2 separate regions of the Homo sapiens genome follow, and region 1 is linked to region 2. Evidence: promoter capture Hi-C in human tissues and cell types (Jung and others, 2019). All regions are on one chromosome and are shown on one strand. Each heading gives the region's core, a stretch centred on a gene start or on the middle of the fragment in contact. The rest is flanking DNA. Distances are from core to core; before and after follow the strand shown.

Evidence for each region. Contacts are between HindIII fragments. The study calls those that stand out against the background at their distance.
Region 1: a contact is called between a fragment that was not itself captured here and the fragment with the promoter of ZNF599 in region 2, in 1 of the 25 tissues and cell types used here (thymus).

What each region holds. Positions count from the first base shown.
Region 1 is chr19:34,819,205-34,822,987 of GRCh38, forward strand. All of the region lies in intron 4 of LINC01801 (long intergenic non-protein coding RNA 1801), which reads right to left. Among named protein-coding and RNA genes, the nearest start is that of LINC01801, 12 kb to the right of the region's middle. The HindIII fragment of the contact is 4,964 bases long and covers 1-3,783 here.
Region 2 is chr19:34,770,754-34,774,771 of GRCh38, forward strand. It overlaps ZNF599 (zinc finger protein 599), which reads right to left and starts at 2,462. Exons shown (of 4, transcript NM_001007248.3): 1 at 2,071-2,462. The coding sequence starts at 2,088. LOC124904696 (a long non-coding RNA gene) reads left to right here and starts at 2,594. Exons shown (of 2, transcript XR_007067234.1): 1 at 2,594-2,941; 2 at 3,514-3,936. RefSeq lists a silencer at 2,113-2,172 and an enhancer at 2,283-2,392. The HindIII fragment of the contact is 7,437 bases long and covers 1-4,018 here.

The DNA of each region.
Region 1 (3,783 bases), core at 999-3,498, 48 kb after region 2:
AAACCCAAGCTGGGAGATGTGGCTGCTGTGTTCAGCAAGTGCAGATCATGGACAAACAGACATACCATCAGGGGGCATTTGTCCATTATCCACAAAGTATGAGGAATCGTGAAAGGATAAGCAAAGAAGTTACATGATATATGTAGATTTTAGAAACACTCTATGCCTCCCTGAAAGGAAGAATTAAATAGATGCCAGAATAGAAGCAGATAGGCTTAGGAAATTTTTTTGCAGTGATCCAATGCAAAAATGAGCCACTGAGCTCCCAGTCTAGAGGAACTGACAGTGGGATGGTTGAAGAGGTAAGGGAAGAGGCAAGGGGAAGTAGGCGATGCCAACAAGACCAGGGCTATTTTAGCCATCTGGTTTAGATAAACGGACATGAGTTGTTTTGGAAAACATACATTAAGTTAACTTTCTAATAGTCTGACATGGCTATGGAAGACGTAGGTGATATTCATAAAGCCATTCATTTACCCATTTAGTCATCAGTTGGGCATATATATTATTATTTGAGACAAAATGAGTAGTCTAAGGAATACTTTAGGTAATAGCATCAATTTTTTAAAAACAAGGATAAAAATCTTATGAAACCTAATTCTAGTTGGAGAAAATAAAATAAACAACAAATGTAATAAATTAGTAAATTATTTGATAGGTTCCAGTAACAACTGCAGGGAGACGAAGGGCAGCCAACGTAGGATTGAGTTTAGGGCTAGAGAGAAGTGTGAGTTTCTATTTAAATAGACTGGAAATGGTAAACCTCATTGGGAAGGTGGAATCTGAGCAAAGTCTAGAAGGCAACAATTAAGCAAACCACACAGTTATCTGAGGGAAAGGCATTCCAATTAGTTGGACTAGCCACTGTAAAGGCTCAGAGGAAGGATGTCTCTTGCCCGCAGGGAGCAGTGAGCAACTCAATAGGGGACCAGGATGAAGTTGGCACTTTGCAGAGTGGGAAGAAGGGGGAATAGAGATGGAGAGGGATGAAGAGACTAAGTGGGGCCTTGGAGGATGTGATAAGAACATTGCCTTTTACTCACAGATGGAAATCATGGAGGGTTTGGAGCAAAGGATGACGTGATCTGACTGAGGCTTAATAGGATCATTCTGGTTTCTGGGGATGAGAGACCATTTAGGTGGCTATGGTCATAATCATGAAAGCTTGGACACAGTGGTGGTGGTGCAGGTGATGAGAAGTAAAATTTGTAGATATTTTGAAGCATTTTCTGTTGGCCTGAATGGCAGGAGTATGTGTGGAAAAGGAAGAAGGAATCCATAGACTTGCTATTTGAGTTTAGAAAAGGTTTTGGCCTCATCAAGGTATACTCGGTCACTGGGCGTGTGAAAAAAGATGGCCGAGGGAGAATTCCTAGAAGGGGAAAATAGGGAGGGAGGACATGGGAGGATAACAGACTCCTAAATACATGTGGTTGAGTTCATTGGTTGTGCATATGGAAATTACCCCTACCTCAAACCATCACACAAATGATGAATTTAAGATATCAGATAACAAAAAACATGAAAAAAACTAAATCCAGGTACATCATAATCAAACTGCTTAGTCTCTAGGAGAAAATCAAAAGACATCCCAAGAAAAAGCACACATTATGTGTTCCAGTAGAACACATGCATTGTTCTAATGAGAAACAAAGAAAAAGTAAGATGTAGCTACAGACGAATGAACAAAACTTGAATATATTATTTTCAAAAGTTCCCCCGAAACAGAATATGGCACACCTCTCATTGGAAATACACAAGCTAGAACTCAATGAGTTAGCATTTTTTAAAACTCGAAAGAAAAAAATACTGTGAACCTATACCCTGTGAACCTGCCAGAATGTGGAGACACAGGTGCTAAAACTACACCCAGTGAAACTCTTTTAAAAGTGAAGGTACACACACACACACACACAACTCAACCTTTTTATACACGTAAATGCTTATCGCTAGCATACCTTTCATTAAAAAAAAAAAACTAAAGGAAGTCCGGGCAAGATAAAAATAGTGCAAGTTAGAAATCTGGATCTACACAAGCGAATGAGTAGCAATGGAAAAAGTAAATATAAAAATATATGCATATACATACATATGTGTTTGTATGGGGGTGTTTGTGTGTGCATGTCAAACACTTTCTGTAAAAGTAAAATGTATGGCACAATGGCACAAATGATAAGAGAGAAATGGAAGTGTACTGTTCTTATTGTATAGTTCTTATACTATATGTGAAACAATATAATATTACTTGGAGGTAGACTATATATGTTACTCTATATAGTTTATACTATAGTATGTAGTATATCCTATATAATATAAAGAATCACTTTAAAAACACTTAAGAATTATATTTAGTAGGTAAACAAAAGAGATAAAATGGAATCATGAAAATAATCCAAAAGAAGGTATACAAAGAGGAAAAAGAAACAAAGACCAGATGGAACAAACAGGAAGCAACAGCAAAATTGTCAGTGTAAACACAACGACATCTAACCATATTAAATTTAATTGTCTAAATGTATGATTTTAAAGGCAGAGATTGTTAGATTGGATTAAAAATACAAAACTATATGCTATGTATAAAAAAAACACTTGAGGCTGGGAGCAGTGGCTCATGCCTGTAATCCCAGCACTTTGGGAGGCCGAGGCGGGCGGATCATGAGGCCAGGAGATAGAGACCATCCTGGCTAACACGGTGAAACCCCGTCTCTACTAAAAATACAAAAAGTTAGCTGGGCATGGTGGTGGGTGACTGTAGTCCCAGCTACTTGGGAGGCTGAGGCAGCAGAATGGCGTGAACCTGGGAGGCGGAGCTTGCATGAGCCGAGATCGCACCACTGCTCTCCAACCTGGGCGACAGAGCAAGACTCCGTCTCAAAACAAAAGCAAAAACAAAACAAAACAAAACAAAACAAACAAACAAAAAAGACTTGAAACACAAAAACGAATATAACTGAAAGGATAAGGATGGAATAACACCAATGTAAAGAAATCTGGAATAGTTATATCAAATGGAGTAGATTTCAGACAAAGAATGTGATAAGGAATAAAAAGAGTTATTTGATAATGATAAAAGGATTAATTCAACAATAGGTCATAACAATGCTAAATGTTTTTGCACCCAGTACTAGAGCTTCACATTATATGAAACAAGGCTGATAAAACTCAAAAGAGAAGTAGCATATGAGTCAAAGAAATCTCAAGAAAAATTTAAAAAATATTTTGAATGAAATTAAAGTGAAAACTCAACTTAGCAAAATTTGTGGCACACAGAGCATATAGTTCTTAGAAGGAAATTTATAGAAATGGATGCATATATTAGAACAGAAGAAATCTAAAATCAATCTCAACCCTTACCTTAGGAAACTACAAAAAGAAGAGCAATTTAGGTCCAAAGTAAGTGAAATGAAAAATAATTAGAGCAGAAATCAGTGAAATCGAAAACAGGAAAACGATAGAAAAAAATCAATAAAACCAAAATTGACTCTGAAAATATCAATAAAACTGATAAATGTCTAAATAAAATAACCAAGAAAAGGTAGAGAAGACACAAAAAGGAGTATCACTATTGAGTCACAGATATTAAAAGCATAACAAAAATATTAGAATGCCACAAATTTGATAACGTAGATTAAATGGCCAATTCCTTGAAAGACACAGTCTGCCAAAAGGATAGAGAATAGAAATAAGCCTGTATCTATCAAAGTAATTGAATCAACAATCAATAACCTTCCAAAACAGAAAGCACTAGGCCCTGGTGCTTTTACTGGTGAATTCTAAATATTT
Region 2 (4,018 bases), core at 1,212-3,711:
CAGATGATCACACAAGACACGTCAGCAGGTGACAAGCCTTGGTGTCACTCTATGTCTCCTCATGCCTCTGCCTTTGTCCATGCAGTTCCCTTTGCCGGGAAGGTTCCCCAAAGACCCCTTCATTCCAATGTCCACCTGCTAGAGAGAGGCCTGCACCTTCCCCTTGCAAAGTGTACTTCAGCTGTCGCCCCCAGGGATCTCCAATCCACTGTGGGTGAAATATTGGTTAAAAATGTAAGCTTCTGGCTGGGCACGTCGGCTCATGCCAGTAAGTACTTTGAGAGGCCAAAGTGGGAAGACTGTTTGAGTTCAGGAGTTCGAGGCCAGCCTGGGCAACACAGTGAGCCCATCTCTACAAAAAATAAAAAAAATTAGCTGGGTGTGGTGGCACACACCGATAATCCTAGCTACTCAGGAGGCTCAGTGGGGAGGATTGCTAGTGAGCTGCGATGGGGCCACTGCACTCCAGTGTGAGCAACAGAGCTAGACCCTCTTTCAAAAAAAATAAATAAATAAAAAATGTAGGCTTTTATGCTCGACATACTGGATTGTTTCTGTTACTTATGAGCTATGCAACCTTGGGTAGTTAATCTGAGTCTCCGGTTCCTCTTCTGTAAAGAAAGGAAAATGAAAGAATTTTACTCTGAGAAGAAGGGCGTTAAATAAGGTAATACACAGAAACTGCCTCTCAGCACATTATCAATGCGCTCAGTGAAGACCAGCTACTATTTGTTGCTGTTAGTATTTTTCCTATTTGCTCCTGTCGCACCCTAGGAGAGCTCAATGCAGCACACATCCAGGAGCAGCCTTGCAGAGATCTGGCGACAATGTGACAGAGAAAATCGTCCAATGAGCTTGGCATGTGCAGGAGAGAAGAATGGCAGGGGGAGTGTCCTGGTGGATTGGGCAGTGACTTTGCAGCCATGGTGGGGTATGGGGTGGGGTTGGGTTAGATGAAATCTAAGTAGGATGGGAGCCCCAGAGGATAGAATCTCATTCATTAATCACTTATCGACTAAGTGGTACAGGCCCAGAACAGAATAGTTTTGGGCCTGGGGATGAAAAACAGAACAGAAGCTGACATTCTGGGGTTGGGGGACAGATCCTCAGCAATAAACAATCAAGATAAAGTCAGAAGACTCTAGAAAACAACACAAGAGTGAGAAGACCACAAAGACTGGGAGAGACTTTACATGATGCAACCAGGGAAGCTCTCTCTGAAGAGACCCTGGAACAAGGTTAGATTGAAGTTAGAGAACAGACCAGGTGAGGAAAAATGAATAGACAACTCCTGAAGGTGATCAGAGCTACGAGGAGTAAACAGTGTGACATGCTGGAGAGTAACTTGGGGCCTTATGTGCTCACACTCCAAGAGACATACATTCATGTACACTGTCATTAATGAATATTGTGCTGGATTTGCTTTTCAAATACAAGAGCATGTGTTAAACAGAAGCACGGATTCACTGCTGTTAGGCGGCAAGCCAGATTCATTTGTAATAAACAGACGGCATCTGCAAAGATAAATCCAATGAGCTTCTTGTCTTCTAGCCTCCTGCCAAAAATGCTGCTCCCGCCTCACCTCTTGCCCTCGAGGCTCTCATTCCCTCTCCCAGCTTTTGGTAGGGCCAGACTTCCGCTGGAATGATCCCCTAAAACAACAGCAGGACCTAGAGAGTCCTTCTTCAAAGACGGCACCTAGAGTGATGCTCTCCGAGCAGTGAAAGACAGGACCCACGTCACAAGCGTACCCTCTCCAGCTCCCTCCACAGAGAAAATTACTGAGACTCGCATTTTAGACCCGAGGGAATGGAGGCCGAGGGCAGCGAGGCGACAGCTCCAGGTTAGAGCCAGAGACAGGGACCTCTCCTTACAACTCCTGTCCTGGATTCAGGACCCTGGGTAGGAAGTGATTAGCCCTGCCCTCTCACCTCACCCTCTCCCGGGATCTCCATAACCTAGGGCATCAAAAGGGAGAAGCACAGAGTCCCGGCATCCGCCGTATTACAGCGGATGGGTGCATGCGGGCGGTGACCCGAGCTCGCGCGGGCTGCGGAACCCTCCACTCACCAACGCCGGCGCCGCCATGGGCCCAGGGGGCTGGGTGAGGCCGTGAGAGTCGGCGAGGAAGCCGGTCCTGCGGGCTCGGCCGACCCCGGGCTCCGGCTCTGGGCTGCGAGGGACCTCAGTCCCCGCCGTCGTGTAAAATGCACACAAGGTTCGCGGCGCCGCCTCTGCGCGCCGTGAGGACACAGGGCTGTCGCCAAGGCCCCAGGAAGGGTTTTGCAGACGCTTGTGGGGGTGGGATCGCGGCTGACATAAAAGCGTGTAAGTGGGTCCTATCCTCCTCACTGTCCGTCTCTACTCGGTCTCGAAAAGTGGCCCCTGTCTGGCGTTCTACCCAGTGTAGCGTTGGCAACCACAGCAGCCGCAACCTAACGGCGGACGAAGACTGGACGCCGGAAGTCCCGCCCACGCCGCTACGGGAACGCCCCTCTGCGCCTTCCGTCTATGGCTTGGGGTCGGCTTCCGTCCCTTGTAGCACTGCCTTCTGGGTAATGTAGTTTGACGGAATCCGGGTGGTACCTGGAGCGCACTTTCTGTTCTCGGTGAGGCGGCTTCTCAAGGCTCCCAAGAAAGGGATTGGCTTCACCTCTTCTTAAAGGAGAGGCACACAGAGTTCCGTGGAAATTATCTGAGGCAATGACCCACTCTCAAATGTCTCTACCAGGCAACTCACGCCTTGACTTTCCTCCCTGTGTATCCCTGCGCCAGCAGTTCATCTCTCTGAGCCTTGAGATGGAGATTCCTAAGGAAAATGAAGATAATTATTTAATATGATAATATTAAAATTTCCCCTATCAGTAATTTTCAGATGACATCAGCATTACCTGCGAATTTGTTACCAATGCAAGTTCTTAGTCCCCACCCACTGAATCAGGTACTCTGGGGGGTGGGACCCAGCCCTCTGCTTAACTTGTCCAGGAAAAGTGGATGCTGCAAAACATTTGAGAACCAGACTCTTTAAATTCCAGTAAATAAATGAGACAAAGCCACCTGTTTGGTGGGAAGTAACTAAGAATTGCTTAGCACTGGGCCTGGAACATACCGATAAGAACATAAGAGCTATTGCTGTCATTATTAATATTCTGTATTATTGGCAACATCATCACAATACACTGCTAGGGGAGGGTCTGAGATACTTCTTTGCAGACTCTGATATTTGTCAAAACAAATACGTTGACTGATTCAACAGGAGCCTCATGAATACTGTTTAAATTTTACATAATAATACGTTGCAGCATTTGGCGTATGCATCTTTTTAAAACGGTATATGCAGGAGGGTTTCCTAATATACAGGTAGACCTATTGCCCAAGGGATACTTTCTTACATGATTCAAAACTTAGGATCACTGAGACTAATTACCTGCAGCCCTAAGGGAAGAGTGGAGTTGACATGGTTTCTAGTTTGTGATGTAAGATGGCGTGTCACTGTTCATCTCTAATTCACAGCAACCAGGATCTGACCCCTCCCCATCTGCCCCTCCAGCCCCCAGGGAAGCCAGAACCAGGCACAAACCAGATGGCCCAGCTTATGCCCAGCAACTCAGGGTCACCAGATCTTGTCTCATCAAGACACTTTCAGCCCACCACCCAAACCTGTAGCCCACATGAAGAGGGCAATAATCCTGGACACTGTGAAAAGTAAAAGCATTACATCCAAAGAGGCATCCCCAGGATGGAGCAGAAATAAGAAAACATAATGAAGACACAATTTTGCAATCACTTCTGCCTATATTCCATGGCCTACAAACCACTCAAATAGCTCCACATGTAAGAGAAGCCAGGATGTGCTGTCCTCCAGAGCATCCAGAAAGAGATAATGGGACTGATAAGTCCTTGGCCATTTTCTAGTAAAATCTATTAATTTAGTCATCAGATTTCCATTCTATTATTTATCCTATACATTCTACACTCTCACATGCTTCTTAATGCGAGAAGCCAAAATCTGCATGCA